Regions from separate parts of the Homo sapiens genome. Here regions 1 and 3 are each linked to region 2. Evidence: promoter capture Hi-C in human tissues and cell types (Jung and others, 2019). All regions are on one chromosome and are shown on one strand. Each heading gives the region's core, a stretch centred on a gene start or on the middle of the fragment in contact. The rest is flanking DNA. Distances are from core to core; before and after follow the strand shown.

Region 1 (3,928 bases), core at 556-3,055, 180 kb after region 2:
CTTTTGTGTGGCAAGTCTAGTTTTATTTGACCATACTCGATATCCATCAGATAAGAAAAATGAACATTGGCATAGTGATTTAGAATTTACTAGATATCTGGCAGTTCCTAGGTACCTGGGAACCATGACTGTCACTGGGCATATTGTAAAATTATGAATATGACCATCCAAGACTACTCTATGTATGCAGGTCAGAGGGCCCTTGAGGGGATAATTTGTGCAAAGTTCTACTTAGTGGTTAACAGCTTCTTTTGGTAGAAGTGGTACAGGCCCCCTGGGACTTGGCATGGGGGTTGAGAGGGGTGAAGGTGGGTCATTTCAATGGAAAAGACAAGTGGTGCCTTCTACACCATTGCCTTTTTTTCTTTTTCTTTGAGACAGGGTCTGCTCTGTTGCCCAGGCTGGAGTGCAGTAGAATGATCACAGCTGGAGTGTAGTGGCATGATCATGGCTCCCTCTAGTTTAGAATGCCTCAGCTCAAGCTGTCCTCCTGCCTCAGCCTCCCAGCTGGACTACAGGCATGTGCTACCACGCCTGGCTAATTTTTTTATTTTCCTAGAAACAGGATCTTGCTATGTTGCCCACGTTATTCTCAAACCCCTGTCCTCAAGCAATCCTCCTACCTTGGCCTCCCAAAGTGCTGGGATTACAGGTGTGAGCCACTGTGGCTGGCCAACTTTTGCATTTTTATCTGTCTTCAAAAGACACATACTTCCTTTCAGATCTGGTCATATTCCCAGGGAATAGTCACCGCACATCTCACAGTAGAAACACCCTACCTGAGGGTCCTGTGTGCAGAACATTCTGCAAAGACCCCCACAGAGGCCAGGTGGGCTTTGCAGCAGGCTTAGACAGTGGACACAGCCTGCAGCTGTGGCTGGGGCAGCACTGAGGTTTTAAAATTTTGATGGTCATTCCCAGCATTGCCCTTTGCGTTTAAACTATTAGAGCCAATATAAAACACTATAAGTTCGAATAAACTTGAAAGGATTCATAGGCTATACATGGCTCCAGAGTCCCTACACAGAATCTTGTGGCCAGAGGGGCCTCTGTCTGGTCCTTGTGGTGGGGACTGGTTAATGCCCTGGTGAGGTTCTCAAGGGCGGGGGTGCAGCCTCAGACCAGGACTTGAGTTGACTAGAAAGTCTTTCTCTCTCTCCACTTCACTGCCCCAGCCTATTTTTCTCTCCTGTCTTGACTTGGAATTGAAAACAGCTGGCCAACCTCCTTCCTCCTTGAAGGTGGTTTTTGAATTCTGTCCCTTCTCATTTTCACCCATAGGTTTTGCCCCTTGTCACTTACTGGGCACCTGAGGTATCACATCAGCATGAAAACTCATTACCTGCCCACCTGGTTCCGCTGCCTCAGCTCCTTCTTGGAAGCAGGTGGCCTCTACAGGATGAATATGTTTAAAAGGAAAAAGAAAAAAGGAAAGAAAAAAAAAGAAAACACTTCTGGTGTGTTGTTAGACTGGCTTCTTATTAGAGACACAATCCTCATTTCAGCCATGTATATTTAAGCCACACAAAGGAGCTCATGAGTGGAAATATCTTTTTGTCAGGAATTGTCAGAGGCAGTGATTGAAAAACTATAAGCTGCCAGGGGAATTGATCAGCCAGCTCAGGGAGACATCAGTATTGCTTATTTACAGGCAGACGGTGTTTCCATTTTGCTTAGTTACACATGTGCAGAGGTGTTTCCTCTTTCCACATGGAAGAAGTCCTGTGTAGGGGAGTAGGTTCCATGGAGTGAGCCGGGGGTGCCAAAGGCTTTTGGGCAGAGACCCTGCCCCTAGGGGCACACTGGCCTGGCTGTGGGAGCTGACCTGGGGAAGCATGTGTGTGGAACAGTGACAACCAGCAAGCTCAGGAAGAAACCACCTGGCAGTTAGTGGTGCCAGAGTGAACAGTGACAATGTTCAGGTCTGGCAGAGATGTCTGGGAATAACTCTGGGGCCAGGAAAGAATACTTCTGAATGTGATCATCAAATTAAACATCAATTTCTGCCAGGTGCAGTGGCTCACACCTGTAATCCCAGCTCTTTGGGAGGCCCAGCTGGGAGGATCACTTGAGGCCAGGAGTTCAAGACTGGCCTGGGCAACATAGCAAGATCCCATCTCTACAAAAAATAAAAAAAATGAGCCAGGTATCGTGGTGTGCATCTATAGTCCCAGTTACTCTGGAGGCTGAGGCAGGAGGATCATTTGAGCCCAGGAGTTTGAGGCTGCAGTGAGCTTTGATCACTCCACGGTACTCCAGTCTGGGTGATAGAGCAAGATCCTATCTCTAATTAAAAAGATACATAAATTAAAAAATTAATTTCATTGGGAGGCTGAGGCAGGAGGATTGCTTGAACCCAAGAGTTTGAGGCTGCAGTGAGCTATGATTACACCACTGTCACCTGGATGACAGAGTGAGACTCCATCTCTTTAAAAAAATATTAACTTCAGTGACTTTGGATTAATTAGTTTCATTTCACTTATATCCCTCTCACATTTTGGAGAGAGAAATATAGAAAAAGAAGAAAGAGGAGAGAGGGACAAAAGTTCTCAGACATTGGTGAAGTAACTGAAAGACTACAGGGTGAAATTGAATACTGAGAAATGCGTTTGTCCCAGGTCATTTAAGTTGTTAAAATCTACTGTCATTGGATAGTAAAGAAAGAGCTGTTTAAACTTTGGCAGCTTGATAGATTTTTTAAAAAGCCTCTTTTGCAAGGTTGACTTTAACATAAATCTTGAGCAAGCATAACATGTAAAACACCACTCAGGGCCATTACAGTTATGTTAAAGTTTTTATTTTCTCTCGCCAGCGGGATTTCTCTCTCCACTGGTATTATATGTGCCTGCCAAAACCATATAAAAAGGCTTCATGGAGAAAAGTTTCCAGTGCCAGAAGCCAATCCAGTTTTTTCCCAGATTTGAAGTTTAACACCGGGCCTGGAGACTGTTAGGAAATAGATGTTACAAAAGATGCGGAGTGAGGGAAGCCGGGAGGGAAGATGAATGAATTCAGTGTCCAGTGTTCCCAGGCTTCAGGGCAAAGGATGCAGATGCTTCAATTCATTACTGCGAGAGCTGAAGGGAGACAGAAGTTTGTGGTGTTTTTCAGTGACATTTATCTGCTCATCTGTCAGGAGTTTCTTTCTGTCAACAGGGATAAGCTGCTAAAAAACAAAACCACATGCAACCCTGCAGCTCACAATAATCAGTTATGTACCTTGGCACTTTTCACACATATTGATGCCAACACAAGTCATCTTGTTTCCTCTCTCCCTCTTAAAATTAGGAATTACAGAGAGGGCTATAGGGAAAAAAAATGATTGTCTCTAGTAAATAGCTTTGGTGAAACACACACGTATACACACACACACACACACACATCCTTCCTGTGGCATTTAGACTAACACCAACCTGTCTAGAGCTGACAGTCATATTTTTATATTGTGACATGGGCCACATATTCAGGACCATCGAGATAGATAAGAATTTTGAAGGCCCCTGTGATTCTACTGCGTGAGGAAGGCTTTGTTTGGCTCCAGGCTCTGTTCTCAGGACAATGGGCTGTGAGTGATATATGCAAATGTGTCCTTTTCCCATTACTGGAAGTGACCTTTATTATTAGATTGGAATAGCAACATCAATTCTTGGGTTAATATGACTTATTGGCCTAAAGGGAGGGAACATGTTCTCCTAGCAAGATTTAAAAACTGAGAATTAGGTACAATTCTTGCCTTCACCATAGCTAGAGAATCCTTGTGTGATGTTGGAGAAACACGTTACCTTTGTGTATCTCATTTGCTCTGTTTGGAGATTAGGGAAAACCACATCTCCCAGGAGCATTATGAGCCTTTATTAAGGGTTTCCCAAAAAACCTGGAAGAGATTGATTCCCACCCAAAACAATATTTGGATTACTTTAAGCCCCAG
Region 2 (4,145 bases), core at 940-3,439:
GATTTAAATAAACAGCGTTTCTTGTTGCGTGTTTTTTTTCCTGCCCTAGAACACTGATTCCCCATCCTATCCAGAGATTAGTTTTAGTTGCAGCATGGAACAATTACAGGTACAGTATTAGGATCTATAAATATTCCTGTCTTTTTATAAATGTTTACTTGAGAGTTATACTCTTGGGAAGTTCAAAAGAAAATTAATCTAACCATTTGTCAGCAGATAATGAAGATTGGTTAAGGATTTAATGGGAAAGGGGCATCAAAAGTAGTATTTTAAGATAGGCTTCACTTGAAATTAAGATGTTATTAATAGAGAATTGGTCTGTATTTGCTGTTCTTGCTGATTGAAATAAACTTCTGTAGTGTTTAGTGTAAATTTCTTCTATTCATGATGAGTTTGGTCCAATAAGATAAACAAAATTAAGAGCATGGCTTTGAAAATGTCTTTGCTTTCAGAAATTGAATTAAACTGTCAAAATTGGATTTTGAAACTTTTTAAATGACTTTATAAAGGGGGAAGTATACATAACATTCTAAAACTGTTTATATTGCCCATTTAAGACTGGGAAAATTCAAAACTACATTTATTAGTGGATATGACAACGAATTTATTTCATAGTTTTTAAAAAATGAAGCTCATTACTGGAAATTTAAGTGAAATTGAATTTTTCAAAGGCATCTTCTGCAGAGTCGTTTTAATGTAACTATGAATCAAACTTTCAACTTTCAGAAAATGTGTATACAGCATAACCTTTGTTAGATAACTTGAGAAAATTCAGATGTATCTGGGCGGTTAAGGATCCGGTTAGAAATCATGTTTCAGTGTGAGGGCAAATAACCGATTTGAACATGAGGTATTTCCGAGGAAACGCTTTTTTTGCCCGATAGTAGTTTGTCAAAAGTTAAAATCTTGTTGAATTTTAAACTTGTTTGGAAGGTGTGTCCTGATTTTTTTTCTTGCATCTTTCTTGAGCTTGGATACTTCTTTCCATGTTTTATCCTAAAAACGTGGTATTGTATACACGTCTTTTAGGACTTGGTGGGGAAACTTAAAGATGCTTCGAAAAGCCTGGAAAGAGCAACTCAGTTGTAACTTGGGGAAGTTAACGATCCGCCCGAGTGCAGAGGAAAACCAGAAACGCCTTGCCTTCAGCTGAACCACCGTTTGTGCGAGCTGGATGTCCTTTTCAGTAGAAAAGAATTTTCCTTTTGAATTTATACCATTCATCAATTTTGACACTTTAAAAACGTGTGAAAGGGTTAAGAGGGAAAGATACTGCCCAAGTATTTGAATCGTTTAGTAGTAACTGTCCATTTATCCTATTTTGATCTTTTTCAAGTCTTCTGAAAGGAAGTAGACAGTATTACACCCTGAATAAATAAGGTGTTGTTTTCCACAAAGAGTGATGATATTTTGTTTGGATCTGAGTTCGTGTGTTATTACTTTGTGTGAAGCTAGATAGGAGTAGTGTGAACTTTTAACGATAGCCTTTTCTCAGGATTAAAGTTAAACACGGAGGAAACGATGCGATCTCCTGGGTTTGTCGCAGACCCCTGCTTCGGGGCTCCGGGGGCGGGCGCGGGCGGCTGCCCGGCCCGTTACCTGCGCCCGAGGGCTCGCCCACAGCCCGACCCTCGGCCGCCCGGTCCCGGCCCGGCGCGGAGCCCCTGCCCGGAGCCAGCCGTCGCCCGCGCGCGCCCCGCCTCGGCCGCCCGCGGGCGGGGAAGAGGCCGGCGCGGCCGCGGGCTGGCGGGCAGGGGCGGGCGCTGTTGTTTCCGCGAGCCCAACTTGGGCGCAGGTTCCGCGCCGCGGCGCCGGAGCCTGGGCCGCAGCCCGCGGGGCCGGCCGGGGGGCGGCGGCCGCGGGACGTATGCGCCCCGGGAGGAGGCGGGCGGCCGGGAGAAAGAAAGAACGGGGGGCGGGGTGGGCTGCGCGGCGTGCGGGGCCGGAGCGGCGGCCGCGCGGAGCAGGGCGGCGCGTGTGGCGCTGTGGAGAAATGTCTCCGCCGCCGCGGCGCGGAGCGAGGGAGGGGGCCGGGCGCGCGGCGCGGAGGGGAGGGGGCGGCCACGGGCCTGACTACACCGACACTAATTCCCAGGCCGCCCTTAAGGAATGAGGGGAGCACGTGACCCGCTGGGGGGGCGGCGGGGGGAGGGGGCGGGCGGACTCCGAGCCATTTTGGAGCCGGTGTCAGTTTCCACTCTGCCTTCAGCGGTGCATTTTTTTCCACCCTCCCCTCCCCCTCCTCCCCTCCCCCCGCTCGCACGCACACACACGGCGCCCCCCGCCCGCCCGCCTCCCCCACAGCAACTATGAAATAATCGTAGTATGAGAGGCAGAGATCGGGGCGAGACAATGGGGATGTGGGCGCGGGAGCCCCGTTCCGGCTTAGCAGCACCTCCCAGCCCCGCAGAATAAAACCGATCGCGCCCCCTCCGCGCGCGCCCTCCCCCGAGTGCGGAGCGGGAGGAGGCGGCGGCGGCCGAGGAGGAGGAGGAGGAGGCCCCGGAGGAGGAGGCGTTGGAGGTCGAGGCGGAGGCGGAGGAGGAGGAGGCCGAGGCGCCGGAGGAGGCCGAGGCGCCGGAGCAGGAGGAGGCCGGCCGGAGGCGGCATGAGACGAGCGTGGCGGCCGCGGCTGCTCGGGGCCGCGCTGGTTGCCCATTGACAGCGGCGTCTGCAGCTCGCTTCAAGATGGCCGCTTGGCTCGCATTCATTTTCTGCTGAACGACTTTTAACTTTCATTGTCTTTTCCGCCCGCTTCGATCGCCTCGCGCCGGCTGCTCTTTCCGGGTACGTAGGAGGCGAGGCGCCCCCGGGACGGGGCTGGGGGCCGGCGGGGGCCGCGCGGGGCTCGGGGCGGCCGCGGGTGGAAGGGGAGCCCCCCCCGCGCCCCGGCCGCGCCGCCGGGAGGGCGCTGACAGCGTGGGCGCCCGGCCCCGCGCCCCGCGCCGCCCGCCCCGCGCCTGCCGGCCCCGCGCGCCGCCCTCCCCGCGCCCGCGAGCGCGCGCCCGCCGCCGCCCGCCGACTCCCGCGGCGCCGGGACCGACCCGCAGCCCGCGCCGCGCCGCCGCCGCCAGCAGGGCTCGGCGCCGCTCCAGCCGCCGCCGCCCGCTCAGCCCCGGCGCGCCGCGCGCGGCCCCACGTTTTAGTTCCCCGCTCCCCCGGGCGCCCCTCCGCACCCTCGCGACGCACATGGCCCCCGAGAGGAGTACTGGTATTTCCAGCCTCGGCGGCTCTCCCGGCCGCAGCGCCCTTTGTTGAGAGGTAGATTTGGATGAAACGGGGACGGGTTCCTGAAATCGGGAGCTGCTTGGGTCAAGTGGCTTCCCTCCTCTCCCGAAGAAAGGGCTCTGGAGGGGCTCCAGCAGCCAGAGAACGCCCCCATTTTATAGGGACGGGTTGCGTGGGGGGCGGCCATCCCGCCAAGGTGGGTGTTAGGCTGGAGAGAGCCCCGACGAAAATGTTATTAACTTAAGTTGGGGGGACACTTGTCTGAGATTGGATGGCTGGTAAGATGGCGGTTCCCAGTTGTTTCCAAGGTCTCCTGCATTTGTGTTTAAAATGCTGAAGTTTTCAAGGTGGTGTGTGTTGGGAGTCTTGGATAAGTGCTCTGAACATCGCTTGGGAGGTGCTCCCTGGGAAGTGGGCATTTCAAATTTGGAGCTTTTTGTGGAGTGAAGATGGTGACTGGACGTTAGCTTTGCTGGAGGCTTGCTTTCTCACTACTTCTTTTTCTCCTTTTTCTTTTTTCCCCTTTTGGAGACTGCAACTTTTCTCTCGACTTCTACTAAAGGATGCACTCAGCATCATGACTCCAGTCCACTATCTTTTACAGGTTTTGCTAAATGTCAGCATAGGTCATTTGGCAAAGGGATGCTTTAGAAAAGAGCACTAAAAAGTTGATTGCATATGTTTACGCAGTCACTTGGGCTTGACAGTGATATGGCATGATCTTTTTCCCAGAGATTTACAGTTAATAATTGGAAGTAAACAAGTAGAGAGACTTTGATCATTACCACTTGCAATAAAAGGATTTAGTGGGCTTAGTGGTCACGGTTCAATATATGAAAGAGAAGCATGTATTAACCCCTTCCCTTAATGTGGGCAAAATTCCGAGCATATTTATCCAAATGCAAGTGTAGGTTGGT
Region 3 (4,182 bases), core at 784-3,283, 200 kb after region 2:
TCTGCTAGCTTTTGAATTTGTTTGCTCTTGCTTCTCTAGTTCTTTTAATTTTGATGTTAGGGTGTCAATTTTAGATCTTTCCAGCTTTCTGATGTGGGCATTTAGTGCTATAAATTTCCCTCTTAACACTGCTTTATCTGTGTTCCAGAGGTTCTGGTACATTGTCTCTTTGTTCTCATTGGTTTCAAAGAACTTCTTTATTTCTGCCTTAATTTCGTTATTTACCCAGTAGTCATTCAGGAGCAGGTTGTTCAATTTCCAGGTAGTTGTATGGTTTTGAGTGAGTTTCTTAATCCTGAGTTCTAATTTGGTTGCACTGTGGCCTGAGAGACAGTTTGTTATGATTTCTGTTCTTTTGCATTTGCAGAGGAGTGTTTTACTTCCAATTATGTGGTCGATTTTAGAATAAGTGCTATGTGGCTCTGAGAAGAATGTATATTCTGTTGATTTGTGGTGGAGAGTTCTGTAGATGTAGGTTAGGTCCACTTGGTCCAGAGCTGAGTTCAAGTCCTGAATATCCTTGTTAATTTTCTGTCTTGTTGATCTAATATTGACATTGGGGTGTAAATATCTCCCACTGTTATTGTGTGGGAGTCTAAGTCTCTTTGTAGGTCTCTATGAACTTGCTTTATGAATCTGGGTGCTCCTGTATTGGGTGCATATATATTTATGATAGTTAGCTTTTGTTGCATTGATCCCTTTACTATTATGTAATGCCTTTCTTTGTCTTTTTTGATCTTTGTTGGTTTATTTTATAAGAAATAAGGATTGCAATCCCTGTTTTGTTGTGTTTTGTTTTGTTTTTCTTTCCATTTGCTTGGTAAATATTCCTCCATCCCTTTATTTTGAGCCTATGTGTATGTTTGCATGTGAGATGGGTCTCCTGAATACAGCACACTGATGGGTCTTGACTCTTTATTCAATTTGCCAGTCTGTGTCTTTTAATTGGGGCATTTAGCTCATTTACATTTAAAGTTAATATTGTTATGTTTGAATTTGATCCTGTCATCATGATGCTAGCTGGTTTTTTGTACATTAGTTGATGCAGTTTCTTCATAGCTTGGATGGTCTTTACAATTTGGCATGTTTTTGCAGTTGCTGGTACTGGTTTTTCCTTTCCATACCCAGTGCTTCCTTCAGGAGCTCTTGTAAGGCAGGCATGGTGGTGACAAAATCCCTCAGCATTTGCTTATCTTGTCTGGAAAGGATTTTATTTTTCCTTTGCTTATGAAGCTCAGTTTGGCTGGATATGAAATTCTGGGTTGAAAATTCTTTTCTTTAAGAATGTTGAATATTGGCCCCCACCCTCTTCTGGCTTGCCAGCTTTCTGCAGAGAGATCTGCTGTTAGTGTGATGGGCTTCCCTTTGTAGGTAACCCGAACTTTCTGGCTGCCCTTAACATTTATCCTTTGTTTCAACCTTGGAAAATCTGATAAACATGTGTCTTGGGCTTGCTTTTCTCTGTGATTATCTTAGTGGTGTTCTCTGTATTTCCTGAATTTGAATGTTGGCCTGTCTTGCTATGTTGGGGAAGTTCTCCTGGGTAATATCCTCAAATTTGTTTTCCAACTTGGTTCCATTCTCCCCATCACTTTGTGATACACCAGTCAATTGTAGGTTTGGTCTTTTCACATAGTCCCATATTTCTTGGAGGCTTTGTTCATTCCTTTTCAATCTTTTTTCTCTAATCTTGTCTTCATGCCTTATTTCAGTAAATTGATCTTCAATCTCCAATATATTTTCTTCCACTTTATTCGGCTATTGATACTTGTGTATGCTTCATGAAGTTCTCGTGCTGTGTTTTTCAGCTCCATCAGGTCATTTGTGTTCTTCTCTAAACTGATTATTCTAGTTAGCAGTTCCAGTAACCTTTTATCAAGGTTCTTAGCTTCTTTGCATTAGGTTAGAACATGTTCCTTTAGCTCAGAGGAGTTTGTTATTACTCACTTTTTGAAGCCTACTTCTGTCAGTTTATCAACCTCATTCTCTGTCCAGATTTGTGCCCTTACTGGAGAGGAGTTGTGATCATTTGGAGGAGAAGAGGCATTCTTGTTTTTGGAATTTTCAGCATTTATGTGCTCATTTTTCCTCACCTTCGTGGATTTATCTACCTTTGATCTTTGAGGCTGATCACCTTTGGATGGGGTTTTTGTGTGGCTCTTTTGTTGATGTTGTTGCTTTCTGTTAGTGTTTCTTCTAAAAGTCAGGCCCCTCTTCTGCAAGTTGCTGCATTTTGCTGGAGGTTCACTCCAGACCCTCTTCACCTGGGTATAACCACTGGAGGCTGCAGAACAGCAAAGGTCACTGCCTGCTCCTTCCTCTGGAAGCTTAGTCCCAGAGGGGCACCAGCCTGATGCCAGCCAGAGCTCTCCTGTGTGAGGTATCTGTCAACCCCTTTTTGGAGGTCTCTCCTAGTCAGCAGGCATAGGGGTCAGGGACCCACTTGAGGAGGCAGTCTGTCCGTTAGCCGAACTCGAGTACTGTGCTGGGAGACCTGCTCTCTTCAGAGCCAGCAGGCAGGAACTTGTAAGACTGCTGATGCTGGGCTCACAGCTACCCCTTCCCTCATGCTCTGTCCCAGGGAGATGGGAGTTTCATCTGTAAGCCCCTGACTGGGGCTGCTGCCTTTCTTTCAGAGACATGCAAACTAGAAAAAACATACTAACTAGATAGTCCAGCAGCTAATTTAATCAAGGACATATGATGGAAGCAGAGCCAGAGAAAGATGCTATATTGCTGGCTTTGAAGATAAGGATGAAACCAAATATCCAAACCATGCAGACAATCTGTACCTGGAAAAGGCAAGAGAACAAATTCTCCACCAGGGCTTCCAGAAAGGATGCAGCCCTTCTCTAGGGTATGTTCCCAGGACTAAAATTCCCAAGTCATATGGTAACCTATATTTAACCATTCAAGGAACTCCCAGACTGTTTTCCAAAGTAGCTGTGCCATTTTACACACTTACAGGCAGTATATGAAGGTTCTAATTCTTCCACATCTTCACCAACACTTGCTTTTTCGTTATACTTATCCAAGCCATAGCCTCTGCCTATGTTTTCTTCTGAATTTTAGTTTTAGTTTTTTCATTTAAGTCTTTGAAGCACTATGAATTAATTTTTCATGTATGATGTGAGGTAGGGGTCCTATTTCATTCTTTTGCACGTGGATACGTAGTTGTCCTAGCATCATTTGTGGAAAAGACTATTCTTTCACCTACTGAATTGTCTTGGCACCCTCATGAAAAATCAATTGACCGTAAATGTAAGGGTTCATTTCTGAAATCTGTATTATATTTCTTTGATCTATATGTATATCTGTCCACACTTTTGATTGCTGTATTTCTGTAACTGTGAAATCTAAAAGTGTGCATCCTTCAACTTTGTACTTTTCAAGATTGTTTTGGCTATTCTGGGTCCCTTGCATTTCCATACAATTTTAGGATAAGTTTGTCAATTTCTGCAAAGCAGCCTGCAGGGATTTAGATAGAAACTGGATTAAATCTGGAGTATTGCTATCTTAATGACGTTATGCTTTCCATAAATATAGGATATCTTTCAACTTATTAGGTCTTCTTTAATTTCTTTTAATGATGTTTTATTGTTTTCAGTCTACAAGTTTTACACTTTTGGGCTAAGTTTATTTTCAGATTTAAAAACTTTATCCATGTTATTATAAATACAATTGTCTTCAATTTTCAGATTGTTCATTGCTAGCATAGAAATAAAATTGCTTTTTGTTTATTGATCTTGTACCCTGCAATCTTACTGAACTTGTTAGCCCTATTAGTTTCTTCTGGTGGATTCCTTAAGATTTTTTATATGTAAGATCATGTCATCTGCAACTAGAAAAAGTCTTACTTTCTCTACAGAAAAGGGTACTCATCAAGAACTTGACCATGCTGGCACTCAGTCTCAGACTTCTAGTCTCCAGAAATGTGAGAAATAAATGTTGTTTAAGCCACCAGTCTATGGTAATTTATTATAGCAGTCCAAACTAATTAAGACAAATGCTGAGTAGAGGTGGCAAGAGTGGTTATCCTTGTCTTGTTCCTGATCTCAGGAGGAAAATATTCAGTCTTTCAGGATTAAGTGCAATGCTGGCTGTGAGTTTTTCATAGATGTCCATGGAGGTTAAGGGAGTTGCCCTTTATTCGTAATTTGTTGAATATTTTATGAAAGGATT

Evidence for each region. Contacts are between HindIII fragments. The study calls those that stand out against the background at their distance.
Region 1: a fragment that was not itself captured here is called in contact with the fragment with the promoter of BMI1 in region 2 in 1 of the 25 tissues and cell types used here (hippocampus).
Region 3: a fragment that was not itself captured here is called in contact with the fragment with the promoter of BMI1 in region 2 in 1 of the 25 tissues and cell types used here (lymphoblastoid cells).

The regions. Positions count from the first base shown.
Region 1 is chr10:22,498,060-22,501,987 of GRCh38, forward strand. No RefSeq gene overlaps it. Among named protein-coding and RNA genes, the nearest start is that of LINC03027, 62 kb to the left of the region's middle. The HindIII fragment of the contact is 8,823 bases long and covers 1-3,928 here.
Region 2 is chr10:22,318,910-22,323,054 of GRCh38, forward strand. It overlaps BMI1 (BMI1 proto-oncogene, polycomb ring finger), which reads left to right and starts at 2,190. Exons shown (of 10, transcript NM_005180.9): 1 at 2,190-2,787. COMMD3-BMI1 (COMMD3-BMI1 readthrough) reads left to right here. Exons shown (of 14, transcript NM_001204062.2): 5 at 50-109. COMMD3 (COMM domain containing 3) reads left to right here. Exons shown (of 8, transcript NM_012071.4): 7 at 50-109; 8 at 1,030-1,397. The coding sequence ends at 1,089. RefSeq lists silencers at 1,675-1,934, 1,995-2,164, 2,355-2,554. The HindIII fragment of the contact is 3,913 bases long and covers 1,268-4,145 here.
Region 3 is chr10:22,523,578-22,527,759 of GRCh38, forward strand. No RefSeq gene overlaps it. Among named protein-coding and RNA genes, the nearest start is that of LINC03027, 88 kb to the left of the region's middle. The HindIII fragment of the contact is 4,160 bases long and covers 1-4,113 here.